Regions from separate parts of the Homo sapiens genome. Here all the other regions are linked to region 4. Evidence: promoter capture Hi-C in 16 types of primary human blood cells and fetal thymus (Javierre and others, 2016). All regions are on one chromosome and are shown on one strand. Each heading gives the region's core, a stretch centred on a gene start or on the middle of the fragment in contact. The rest is flanking DNA. Distances are from core to core; before and after follow the strand shown. Region 1 overlaps UBE2N (ubiquitin conjugating enzyme E2 N). Region 2 overlaps LOC643339 (a long non-coding RNA gene). Region 3 overlaps LOC643339 (a long non-coding RNA gene). Region 4 holds the start of LINC02412 (long intergenic non-protein coding RNA 2412).

What was found. Contacts are between HindIII fragments. The CHiCAGO score rates a contact against its expected background, and 5 or more counts as called.
Region 1: a fragment that was not itself captured here is called in contact with the fragment with the promoter of LINC02412 in region 4 in 2 of 17 cell types (erythroblasts and M2 macrophages); the score reaches 6.3 in erythroblasts.
Region 2: a fragment that was not itself captured here is called in contact with the fragment with the promoter of LINC02412 in region 4 in 1 of 17 cell types (endothelial precursors); the score reaches 5.6 in endothelial precursors.
Region 3: a contact is called between a fragment that was not itself captured here and the fragment with the promoter of LINC02412 in region 4, in 1 of 17 cell types (megakaryocytes). The highest score is 5.0, in megakaryocytes.

What each region holds. Positions count from the first base shown.
Region 1 is chr12:93,412,695-93,415,617 of GRCh38, reverse strand. All of the region lies in intron 1 of UBE2N (ubiquitin conjugating enzyme E2 N), which reads left to right. Among named protein-coding and RNA genes, the nearest start is that of UBE2N, 28 kb to the left of the region's middle. The HindIII fragment of the contact is 1,937 bases long and covers 461-2,397 here.
Region 2 is chr12:93,029,124-93,032,071 of GRCh38, reverse strand. All of the region lies in intron 3 of LOC643339 (a long non-coding RNA gene), which reads left to right. Among named protein-coding and RNA genes, the nearest start is that of LINC02413, 40 kb to the right of the region's middle. The HindIII fragment of the contact is 644 bases long and covers 946-1,589 here.
Region 3 is chr12:93,362,911-93,366,162 of GRCh38, reverse strand. All of the region lies in intron 1 of LOC643339 (a long non-coding RNA gene), which reads left to right. Among named protein-coding and RNA genes, the nearest start is that of NUDT4, 13 kb to the left of the region's middle. RefSeq lists a silencer at 1,834-1,903. The HindIII fragment of the contact is 2,664 bases long and covers 99-2,762 here.
Region 4 is chr12:93,172,923-93,175,939 of GRCh38, reverse strand. LINC02412 (long intergenic non-protein coding RNA 2412) reads right to left here and starts at 1,574. Exons shown (of 3, transcript NR_120492.1): 1 at 964-1,574; 2 at 1-40. All of the region lies in intron 3 of LOC643339 (a long non-coding RNA gene), which reads left to right. The HindIII fragment of the contact is 10,573 bases long and covers 1-3,017 here.

The DNA.
Region 1 (2,923 bases), core at 180-2,679, 240 kb before region 4:
TCATCCCTAATATCTTAACTTTTTTCCTAAAAAATGAAGACCAGCCTCTTTTGTTCTGGTCACATGTTAAAGGACTTCCCAAGGTCAGAGGCTTCATTATTGCCTCTTGAGCTTTTTAATACTCTAAAAATGTTTTAGTTTGAACCTAAAGAACATGTCAGTTTCTCACTTGCTCTTACATCGCCATGATCAAAACAAAAAACTAGTCTTAAAATACCAGAGACATTACCTAAAATGGCCATGGGTTTAATTAACACATTTTGGGGAAGCATTTGATTTGTATTTACATCTTATGACTATTTCAGTATATTACTGTGCTGAGAGAGAAGTTATTTGTTGTTGTTGTTTTTAACGTATGCCCTGTAGCTTGTGGAATGAAACAGTTTATGATGTATTTTTTTTTAGGTGAAGGCAGTGTAAATAAAATGTTCTCATTTATTGTTTTTCATACCTAAAAGCTTATTTAAATATGAACATTTTTCTGGTTAAAAATAAATATAAGTAGAAGTTAGACTATTTTTCCCCATACCTGAGTGGCTCCTTTTGTTTTCCTTCCATAATGTGCACATCCTGCCTTGAAAATAACCCTGCCTTAATGATGTTAACGATGAAATTCTGATCGTTTATTTCCCTCTTTTCATAACATCAAATAGATTCAGAATTCAGTAAATATTAATTGAATATCTATTGTGCCAGGCAGTGTTCCAAATGCTGAGGATATAGCAGTCCATAAAATAGACTCAAATCCATCCTCTCATGGAGCTTAAATTCTGAACAAAATAAGTAGAAATGAGATTTGTTAGTAGTGCTGTGGAGATAAAGCCAGGGAGTGGGGATAGGGAGTGTGCAGGGTAGGGTTGAATGGGGTTTGCAATTTCAGTTATGATGGCTTCACTGAGAAAACATGAAGATCTTAGGAGCTGAGGGAGCAAGCCATATGGATATCTTGGGGAGGAAGAGGAAGTACAAAGCCCTTGAGGTGAGCGGATGCCTGGCACGTTGAAGAACTACAAGGAAGCTAATTTTTGTCTGGAACAGAGAAGGTTAGGGGATGGAGAGAGAACAGCTGAAGATAAGTCAGAGAGGTAGGTGGAGTGAGGGCATCATATAGAGCGTCTTTTGGGGGCCCATTACAAGGACTATGACTTTTTTTTTTTTTTTTTTTTTTTGAGACGGAGCTTCGCTCTTTTGCCTAGGCTGGAGAGCAATGGCATGATCGGGGCTCACCGCAACCTCCACCTCCGGGGTTCAAGCGATTCTCCTGCCTCAGCCTCCCAAGTAGCTGGGATTACAGGCATGCGCCACCATGCCTAGCTAATTTTATATTTTTAGTAGAGGTGGGATTTCTCCATGTTGATCAGGCTGGTCTCGAACTCCTGACCTGAGCCGATCCACCCGCCTCGGCCTCCCAAAATGCTGGGATTACAGGTGTGAGCCACCATGCCCAGACTTTTTTTGAGATGGAGTCTCGCCCTGTCACCCAGGCTGGAGTGCAATGGCACGATCTCAGCTCACTGCAACCTCCGCCTCCTGGCTTCAAATGATTCTCCTGCCTCAGCCTCCCGAGTAGCTGGGATTACAGGCACGTGCCACCATGCCCGGCTGATTTTGTATTTTTAGTAGAGATGGGATTTCTCCATGTTGATCAGGCTGGTCTCGAACTCCTGACCTGAGGTGATCCACCCGCCTCGGCCTCCCAAAGTGCTGGGATTACAGGCGTGAGCCACCGCACCCGGCTCAGGACTATGACTTTTAAAGGGTCTGTGGATAATAGACCTGCGAGGGAGGTAGTGAGGTCAGAAGCAGGAAGAACAGGTTAGGAGGCTGTTGTAGTATGCCAGGTCAGAGCTGATGGTTGCTTGGATCAGAGGTGTAGCAGTGGAATGGTGAGAAACAGTCCAATCATGAGTAGAATTTGAAGTATAAAAAAAACCAATTTGCCAATCAGGCTAGATGTGTGTGGCATATGAAGGAAAAGGTGGATCATTTGGAAAGATGGGTTTGCCAGTAACTGATGTGGGGAAGACTTTATGGGAGGAGCAAAGGTTGGGGATAGGGAGGTCATGTTAAGTTTGGGATGCTTATTAGACATTCAAGAGTGTATATCAAGCAGGTAGTTATAGAGGCAAGAGGCACGATGAGGGGAGAGGTCTGGGCTAGATATGAATTAGGGGAGGCTTCAGCTTATAGAGTGTGTTTAGTATTTAAATTCATTGCATTACATGAGATCACTGTGGAAATGTATAAACAGAGAGGAAGCCCTAGAATAGAGCCCCAGTGCATTTCAGTGTTGCGATGTTGGGAGATAGAAGAAACCAACAAGGAAACTAAAGGAAGCTGCTGCCAGACAAGGAGGAAGAGAGCCATGAGAATGTTTATAGGAAGTTAGATAAAGCTTTGCAAAGAGGAAGGAGACCAGCTGGATAAGATGTCGCATTTAGGTAAGATAAAGATTAAGCACTGGACATTTGATTTAACCTTGTGGAAATCATTGGTGACCTTAACAAACAAGTTAGCGATAACTACAGCTTGATTGGAGGGTATGTTCAAGACAGAAGAGGAGGAGAGAAATTGGAGACAAGCAAAGTAGAGGTTCCTCTTCAAAGACTTTCCTCCCCATCTAATTAGGAATAAATAGTAACTTCTCTTAGAAGCAAAATTTATTCGAAGACCTGTGCAAACATTCTTAAATATTTGCTAGCCATAATAAAGAAATCAATATACTTTATGTTCTTAGCTCCCACAATTTAGCCTAAATATTTGCCCTGGCATGCTTATACTGGTCCAAGCAAGCATTAGGTCATAGCCTGTTCCTCTTCCTTATTTAAAAGTGTTTTTACCTTTCTCAGCATTCCACAAGTTACTTCCTCCTTCCTTTGTTCCCCTCTACCTTTACCTCTTTTAAAAAGTTCTAAGTTGCTAG
Region 2 (2,948 bases), core at 18-2,517, 140 kb after region 4:
TAGATATGCTATATTTCCCAATCATTAAAGCATTATTTAAAATGCAGCATCTGCAAAGGAACTAGAATACCCAAAACAATTTTTAAAAAGAACAAAGTTAATGGAATTATACTATCTGATTTTAGGACTTACTAGAAAAGCTAGAAAATCAGGACAGTGTGGTAGTGGCATAAGGACAGGTATGTGGATTAATGCAGCAGAGTTGAGAGTCCAGAAATAGACCTACACTAACATAGTCAATTGAGTTTTGATAAAGTGCCAAGGTAAGAAAAGAACAGCCATCAATAAATTATACTGGAATAACTGGATCTCTATATTAAGAAAGGTACCTTGACCTTTTCCTCACAGCATACACAAATTTCACTCAAAACAGAGAGTAGACCTAAATCTCAGAGCCAATACTATAAACCTTGTAGAATAACATATAGTAAAAAATCTTCGTAACCTTGGATTAGGGCAAGTTTCTTATGTAATAGATTACAAAAAGCATGAACTGTAAAAGAGAAATTGATAAATTGGGCTTCATAAAGAGTTAAAACATTAGCTTGTCAAAAGACACAATTCAGAAAATGAAAAGCTAAGCCATTAAGAGAAAATATTTGTAAAATATATATCTAACAAAGGATTTGTATCCAGATAACATTAATTTCTCTTACAACTTAAGAAAACAATCCAATAATATAATGAGAAAAATATTTGAATAGACAATGCACAAAAGAAAATACATGAACTGTCAAAAAATCACATGAAAAAATGCTTAGCATCATTAGTAATTACAGAACTGCAACTTAAAACCACAATGGGAGACCACTACACCCACACTAGAATAGCTAAGGTTAAAAATACTGGCAATAATAAGTGTTGGTGAGGCTATAGAGCAACTAGAAATCTCATACGCTGCTGTTGGCAATGGAAAACAATACAGATGTTTCAAAAAAAGAAGCTTCTTAAAATGTTAAACATACACTTACCGCCCAGTAATTCCACTCTTAGGTATTACCCAAGAGAAATGAGAAAATATGCCCACTGAAAGACATACATGAATGTTCATAACATCATTCCATAATAACACCGAACTGGAAACAATCTGAATGGCCATCAACTGATATATAGATAAAAAGAAAATGGTGATATACAGTTAAATATTAACAACTAAAAGGAATGGAGTTGATGGGGCTACAGGGCACAATACCCCCAAAATATGACTGTAGGAGACCAGAATATACCACCTCAAAATATGCTTTTTTGGCATAAGGATTATTTGAGGTGATTCTTCTGGGAAACAGCAGACACAGGAGAAGCTCTGAAAATGAGAGTAGAGGTTACCCTTTTGTAAGAGAAATGTACATCTATAAAGGAACTCTCCATTTGTAAGATTGTCTCCCTCTCTGTACCAGGAGGAAAGGATGGTAGATCACTAGACACTCTTGCCAATGGAGAAGGCATAGGCTTAAATCTGTACAACAAATCTAAACCTCGTTTATGGGGCTTTTCCTGGCCAGTTCCCCATAACTAGGCATTTCCCACACCCTTCTTTCTTTATTTCAGGGGACATGGTACATGACTGTAGTCTCAAGTGTAAGCAAGCTTTTGAGATCTACTCTGGCGATTTTATTCACTCTTCCCTGAGTATCTTCCACATATGCATAAGGTATACATGTGATTAATCTTCTGTTTGTTTTTCTCTTATTAATCTGTTTTTTGTTACAAGGGTCTGTTCCAATTAAGAACTCATGAAAGGTAGAGGAAAAATTATTTTTCCTCCTCTATAGAGTACTGATGCAACAATGTGGATGAATTTTAAAGGCACCAGGCTAAGTGAAAGAAGCCAAAAACAAAATACCATGTATAGTACTGTATGATTCCATTTACCTGAAATCGTTGTAGGGCTTTCTCCTTAGTTCAGCTAAGAGCCGGGTCATTGTCACACGGCCATGAAATATTAGGCCCACAGACACTTTGAAGGGTGAGAAAAATGGAATTTATTGGGTGAAAAGGAAAAAAAGGGCAAACAGGGACCCTCAGCAGAGTGAGAGTCCTGCTAGTAAAGGCTTCCGCCTCACAGATTGAATCCCGGGTTCCACCCAGGAAGAAGAAAGGCCAGGCTCCTCCCCCTGCAAATGGCACGAACTTCCCAAGGCTCCACCCCAGTGCGCACTCCTCCCGGGGAGCAGGCCGGTTGGAGTCTCTCTGGGGATCCCTTCCCACCTGGCTGTCTCAAAATATTTAATGAAAATCCTAAAAAGACAAAACTAAAGGGACAATAAATAGATTGTTTTTTTCCTGGGGCTGGGGATATGGACAGGAGTTGAATGCAAAGGGGCCTGAGGACAATTTCGGGGTTATGGCAGTGTTCCAAAATGTGATTGTGGTGGTGGTGGCATGACTATTTTCATTTACTAAAATCCATTCACACTTTAAGTTGGTGAAGTTTATTGTATATAAATTATTCTTCAATAAAGCTGTAAACAATGTTAATTCAAAATAAATACACACTTGGAGCTTACAGAAAGTAATTCTACAAAGCAAGACTTTGGCAGTTTCAGAGGACCAAGGAGAAGTTAGGAAGCAATACGGTAGGAAAATTTTTGAGGTTCATCCCAGAGAAACTTCAATTCATAATGGAACCCCAGAAATCCTAAGCCACATAGCACTTGAGTTGGGACACCCTGTCTGGAAACAGGCAGAAATGTCAGGCACAGAAATAGGTTTCCTATCACTCACGTAGAAATCTCGGTCAGAGGCCACAGGCTGTGGCTTCAGTGCTTTATCTGGCTAGATAAATCCTTACGGGTTTCTCCTCATCTGCTCTCTGGAGCCCTGGGGGTGAGAGGGTGGAAGTGTGGAGCAGCCTAGCCTCCCTGGCTGGGTTTGACCCACTGACATGGAAGGAGTTCTTTCAACGGTGGGATTTCTGCAGCCCTCTAGTTGCTCATACTGCTGCTGCT
Region 3 (3,252 bases), core at 181-2,680, 190 kb before region 4:
CACTTAGAGTAGGCAGGAGATTACCGTTAGCAAATGGTTGTTTAAATTCTTTGTTTAAGCAAGTGTTCTGCCTAGAATTTAAGGATTTGTGGTAAGCTTACCAGAATCCAGTCACCATCAAAGGCAATGATGGCAGAGGAACTCTGCCAGGCACCACGTTAAGAGCCTGAGTTCTTCACCTCACGACATTTGCCATGTTTTTTCTCTTACCCCCAACATCATGTCTTTATACCACCTCTTGTATATTTATTCTCCTATTCAAGACTCCTTTCTTTCCTAAAGCCTTCCTAGAACAAGTCCAACCTTCACATCAGCATGTGTTTAAGAAATATATTATTCTTGGGAAAATTTCAGGGTATTTCCTGCTTTTGTCCATAATTCAGTGATATTGTACCTGTTTTTCTTGGCTGAAGGAAACCAATGACTAAAATACTTTTAAACTACTGCTGCCTATACCTTCTTTAAAGAGGTCTTATTTTCTCATTGCTGGTAGTGAGAGCTTTTAAAAGGTCGAAATCCATATTATTATTCCAAAATATGTTTAGTTAAAAACTAAATGCCTAGTAGTAGAAAAATGGTCATATAAGTAGGCCGGGCATGGTGGCTTACGCCTGTAATCCCAGCACTTTGGGAGGCCGAGGCAGGCGGATCACAAGGTCAGGAGATTGAGACCATCCTGGCTAACATGGTGAAACCCCGTCTCTACTAAAAATATAAAAAATTAGCCGGGCATGGTGGCGGGCGCCTGTGGTCCCAGCTACTCAGGAGGCTGAGGCAGGAGAATGGCATGAACCCAGGAGGCGGACCTTGCAGTGAGCCAAGATCATGCCACTGCACTCCAGCCTGGGCGACAGAGCAAGACTCTGTCTCAAAAAAAAAAAAAAAAAGAAAAGAAAAAAGAAAAATGGTTATATAAATTACAATATATACACTTCAAGGAGTTCTATGTAGCTATAAATAACAATGCTTACATAGTTTCTAAAAGCAAGGCAAGAGCTTGTTACAAAGTTAGATTTCTAAGTATTAAAGGTTGTATCACCTGGAGCAACGTGGCCAAACCCAAAACCCATCTCTAAAAAAACATACAAAAATTATGTGGGCATGGTGGCATATGCCTGTAGTCCCAGCTACTCTGGAGGCTGACGTGGGAGGATCCCTTGAACCCAGGAGGCAGTGAGCCTGGTTGTGCCACTGCACTCCAGCCTGAGTGACAGAGTGAGTGAGATTCTGTCTCAAAAAAAAAAAAAAAAAAAAAAGTTGTGAATACAATACAGTCCCAACTATATAAAGATCTTAATAGCAGAATTGACAAAATAGTTAATAATTTTTATTTTTGGGTTAACTATAGATTTTTTTCCTTATGCTTTCCTGTATTTCTCAAAATCATGTCATGTGCATGTTCATTTGTATTAGAATATCGTCTGTGTGTGTGTGTGTTCAGCCAGACATTAAGTAAATTGCTTTCAGATTGGTTAATAAGAATAAAAACAGTCAGGCGTGGTGGCTTGCGCCAGTAATCCCAGCACTTTGGGAGGCCAAGGCAGGCAGATTATTTGAACTCAGGAGTTCGAAACCAGCCTGGGTAACATGGCAAAACCCCATCTCTTCAAAAAAAAAAAATTAGCTGGGTGTTGTGGTGTGCACTTATAGTCCCAACTGCTTGGGAGGCTGAGGCTGGAGGACTGCTTGACCCTGGGAGGTCAGGGCTACAGTGTGCCATGATCACGCCACTACACTCTAGTCCCGGCACCTGAGCAAGACCCTGTCTCAGAAAAAAAAAAAAAAAAAAGGAAAGAATAAAAACACGTAAAATCTCAATAATAATGATAAAAAATATATAATATTCTGTGAGGAACTGGTGTAGAACGAATGAGTTCACTCCAGACCACTCAAGTTTAAGTTAAACCAGAGCTCAGCCTATTAGTCTACAAAGTAGGAAGTGGTGAGGTGACTCTAGCTTTGTGGTTAACTTCATTTAACCTCAGCCACTATAGACATAGATCCCTTGAAAGCCCCCCACGATTGGCCCACCCCTTCATCCTTCACTATCTCTTCCCTTTCCCACTTCCTATTCTACTTCTACAGTTCCTTGATGGCCTAAATCAATGGACAGAAAGGGAGGGGAAAAAAAAATGAGGCAGGTCAAACTTAAAGGCGTAGGAAAGATTCTCTTTTCCTTACTTCTATCTCTGCAGGCAGGAGAGGTCTTTTGGACAAGTTCTGAGAAATAGAACTATTTCATGTGGCTGGGAACTCAACTACCTTAGCCAATGGAGCTTGTGACCCAGTTGTGGGAGTGGAGTTGAGTTCTCTTTTATTTCTTTAAGTGATTTTTAAAAATGCACTGGAGCATGTGACCATTTCTTTTTTCTTTTTTTTTTCTGAACAACTAAAATTTTATGATAATGATTAATATCACCTCTAATATTTTGGGAACCTGATCAAGGCCTGAAGCAGTTTTTCTGGCCTAGGATTGTTGTACTATCACATTCAATACAGGTTTATTGATGAAGGCTAGCTAGGGACACAGGGCACATTTGGAGGTCCTCATAAAATCTCTATTAGCTCCTAAAGGACACTCTGAATTTTTTTTAAATGACATTTTGTGATGTAAACAATAATTTCTCAATCTTATTTAAAATGTTGGGGAGGAAAACTGTCTCTAGCCTTTGCCGTTTATTTTGTAACATACAATTTGTGCCATTATAAGACAGGCCCCCTAAGTACTACTTGCAGAGAAGGAAAATAAATATTTGCAAGCTTGGAAAGAACAACAATAACAGATGCATGTCCAGGGTATAACTCTTCCCGGGGCTCCACAAAGGCTGGCAGATGAGGTCTTGACATAAGTTTCTAGGCAAGATGGGGAAAGAAGGAGACGGACCCAAGCAGAAAAGATCATGTTCAAAGGCATCACTGTGTGAAAGAGAACCTTCAGGAAAATGCAGGCTGCTTAATTGAAAATAGGTGAAGACAAGCTAGAGAAGCAGGCTTCAGCTACATCACAGGCTAAGGAATTTGACTCTATTGTAGACCAAGAGTATCAAAGTGACCTCAGAAAGTTTTCCCAGGCCAGTGCAGCTGTTTTAAAATAATTTTTGATTTGAATAACTTCAGGTAGGACAGATCTTCTCCAGGTCCATACAACTTCCTTCTTGGCCATATTAAACCCCATGGCTTCACACATTTGAGTGCCTGGTAGTGAAGGCATTTGAGATCTTCTCAAGAATATGCTAGGTAGATAATGGAGAA
Region 4 (3,017 bases), core at 325-2,824:
GTTTTCTTTTTGGTTCATGGGAGTTCAGCAACCCAATAACCTTGAGAAAAGAGAAATGAGAAATGGAACCAGTTCATCTTAGGCTAAAAGATTCATTTTGACAGAGTAATTTTTTTTCCCTAGGATAAGAAATTACTGTGTCATTCCAAATGCATAGATACTACTGTGCCAAAGTGCTGCAGAGAGTTTCATGCTGAACTTTTTTAAGAAAATTAATTGGATGTTAATGAAAGTTTGGGGCTGGTAGAATTCAAGGGAGAAGTACTCTGTTTTTTATCACCACTTCCCAAAATTATATAGTTGAAGGCTCTTATAATGATTACAAAAATAGTAACCCCCACTTGCTTGTGCTAGACAGAATATAAAGCAGTTTCACAACATTTCTGCGTTGAATTAGAGTAATCCTCCTGGTATCTGAAGACCTCCTCTGAGCCCAGTGTATGCTGGCATTGCCACCAGAATCTTAGGAGTGAGGCCTTTGGCCAGGCTTGGGGGTTCTAATAAATTTAGCATATGGGCCAGGCGCGGTGGCTCACACCTGTAATCCCAGCACTTTAGGAGGCCAAGGTGGACAGGTCACTTGAGGTCAGGAGTTCGAGACCAGCCTGGGCAGCATGGTAAAACCCCATCTCTACTAAAAATACAAAAATTAGCCGGGTGTGGTGGTGTGTGCCTGTAATCCCAGCTACTCAGGAGGCTGAGGCAGGAGAATCGCTTGAACCCAGGAGGCAGAGGTTGCAGCGAGCTGAGATTGTGCTACTGCACTCCAGCCCGGGTGACAGAGCGAGACTCTGTCTCAAAAAAATAAAAATAATAAATAATAAATTTAAAAAAGCATAGCATATGGAACACTCTTCTGGAATCAGTGTCTGTAACAGAAAAAAAGAAAAGAAAAATTTGAAGTTGCAATTACTCAGATGGGTTTGTGGACACTGGAAAGGAGATGAGGAACCTACACATCACCTTATTTCCAGGAGAAGGTGGGTGGCGGATTCATGCTTGTTCTCAATCGTAGCGGTTGTTTGGACTCAGTAGGAGTATTTGCTGTGAAGTCTGTCATATGAAGGAAAAAATCAGGGGTGCAACATTGCGGCCAGAAAAAATTGGATGGTGTCATTTCCAGTCACCAAGGTGGGCCGTCAGCACAGATAAGACGTGTGTGTCTGGAGTTTGCTCTTTTACATGTGCGCTGTGACAGGCTTCTTGCTTCTGTCACATGACTCCCAGCTGGAGAGGATGATGAGGGGAGAGCCCAAGCTACACCAATAACTCTCAGTGCCAGTTCCTGCTGTTTCGTCATTGTCTCCCCATCACAGCTGTACCAAGGCCACTTCTGGTTGCCTTCTTGCTTCTCCAACTGCTTTTCTCTGGTTTCTTCCTTGGCTTCTCTTTCTGAAATTGTCACTTAAATGTTGACATACCCAGACTGTGCCCTTTGGCACTTATCTATTCTCACTTTACCTACACTCCCTGGACAATCACCTCCATTCCCATGGCTTCAATTACCGTCTCTACTACTGGCAGCTCTCAAATGAAATCTACATCTCCAGCCCAGAACTTGTTCTGTGGTTCCCTAGATGTCTCAGAATCAGTGTGTTTGAACCTAGCTCATGATGCTCCCACCCCCACAAACTATGCCTGCTCCTGAGATCTTGTCTATGTAATAGTGGCCAAGATTTACTGTGCTTGTGATATTCCAGGCTCCGTTCCAAGCATTTGACATACTTTACCTCATTTAACCTTTTCCAGAGCCCTGTACAGAAGATACAATTATTATCCCTCTCTTATACTCTGAGGCACCCAGTGAATCGGTGCCTTGCCCCAGGTTCAACAGCTAGCTGTGGACAGAGCCAGACTTTGAATGCAGGCTGTTGAAACTGTAGCCCATGCTTCTAATCACTCGGCTGGGCTGCTTGCTGTTGTACATTTACCCAAGTCAAAAACTGGAGCATCATTTTTGATGTCATCTTCTCCCCTGGCTCCCACATCCAATCCAATGCCAATCCAGTTCCTTTTACCTCCTGAATAACTTGAGCCTTTCTTTCTTTTTCTTTTTTTTTTTTGCTCCTGGGTCACTACTATAGTCCAAGCTATTATCTCTTGCCTGGGCACTCACGATGGCTTCCTAACAGCTCTTCCTGCTGTTCTCTCATCTCTCCTTTCCACCCCATCTATTTTCCATACTGCAGCCAAAGAAACCTCTCTAAAACATAAATTCAAATGTGTCACTTCAGTAAAATGCTCCAATGGTTCCCCATTGTCAGGGCAAAGTCTGGACTCCAATATGCCTAAAAAGGTATGCTCTGGGCTCTGTTTTCTCCAGCCTCATCCTTCTCCCTGACTCCATCCCCTCCCCTTGCTCTGTTAGCATGCCCCGTCTTCCTGTGTTTCTTCCCTTTCCTGGCTCCCGGAAGGCCCCCTTCTCTCTCTTACCTCTTGGCCACTTAGTTGTCTGATCCCTTTGCCTATGATACAGTTTGGATACTTGTCTCCTTCAAATCACATGTTGAAATTTGATCCCCAGTGTTGAAGGTGGGGTCTCGTGGGGGGTGTTTTGTCATGAGGGCAGATGGCTCATGAATGGCACGGTGCCATTCTTGTGGTAATCAGTGAGTTCTTACTCTTAGGTCCCACAAGATTTGGTTGTTAAAAAGAGTCTGGCTCCTCCTTCTCTTCTGCTTGCTCCCTTCCTCTCTCACCAAGTGATCTCTGCACACACCAGCTCCCCTTCATGTTCCACCATGAGTGGAAGCAGCCTAAAGACCTCACCAGAAACAGATGCTGGCGCCATGCTTCTTGTACAGCCTGCAGAATCATGAGCCAAAGAAATCTCTTTTCTTTGTAAATCACCCAGCCTCAGGTCTTTCTTGATAGCAACACAAAGGGACTAAGACAGCTCGAATGTCCTTCCATCTTCTCTGCACCTGCTTGAGTCTTATTCATTCTCAAAGGCTTTGGGGATCTCCTCTCTGGGGTCTAGAAAGGGACTTTGGTGCCTTGGCTGTGTGTTACAGTAT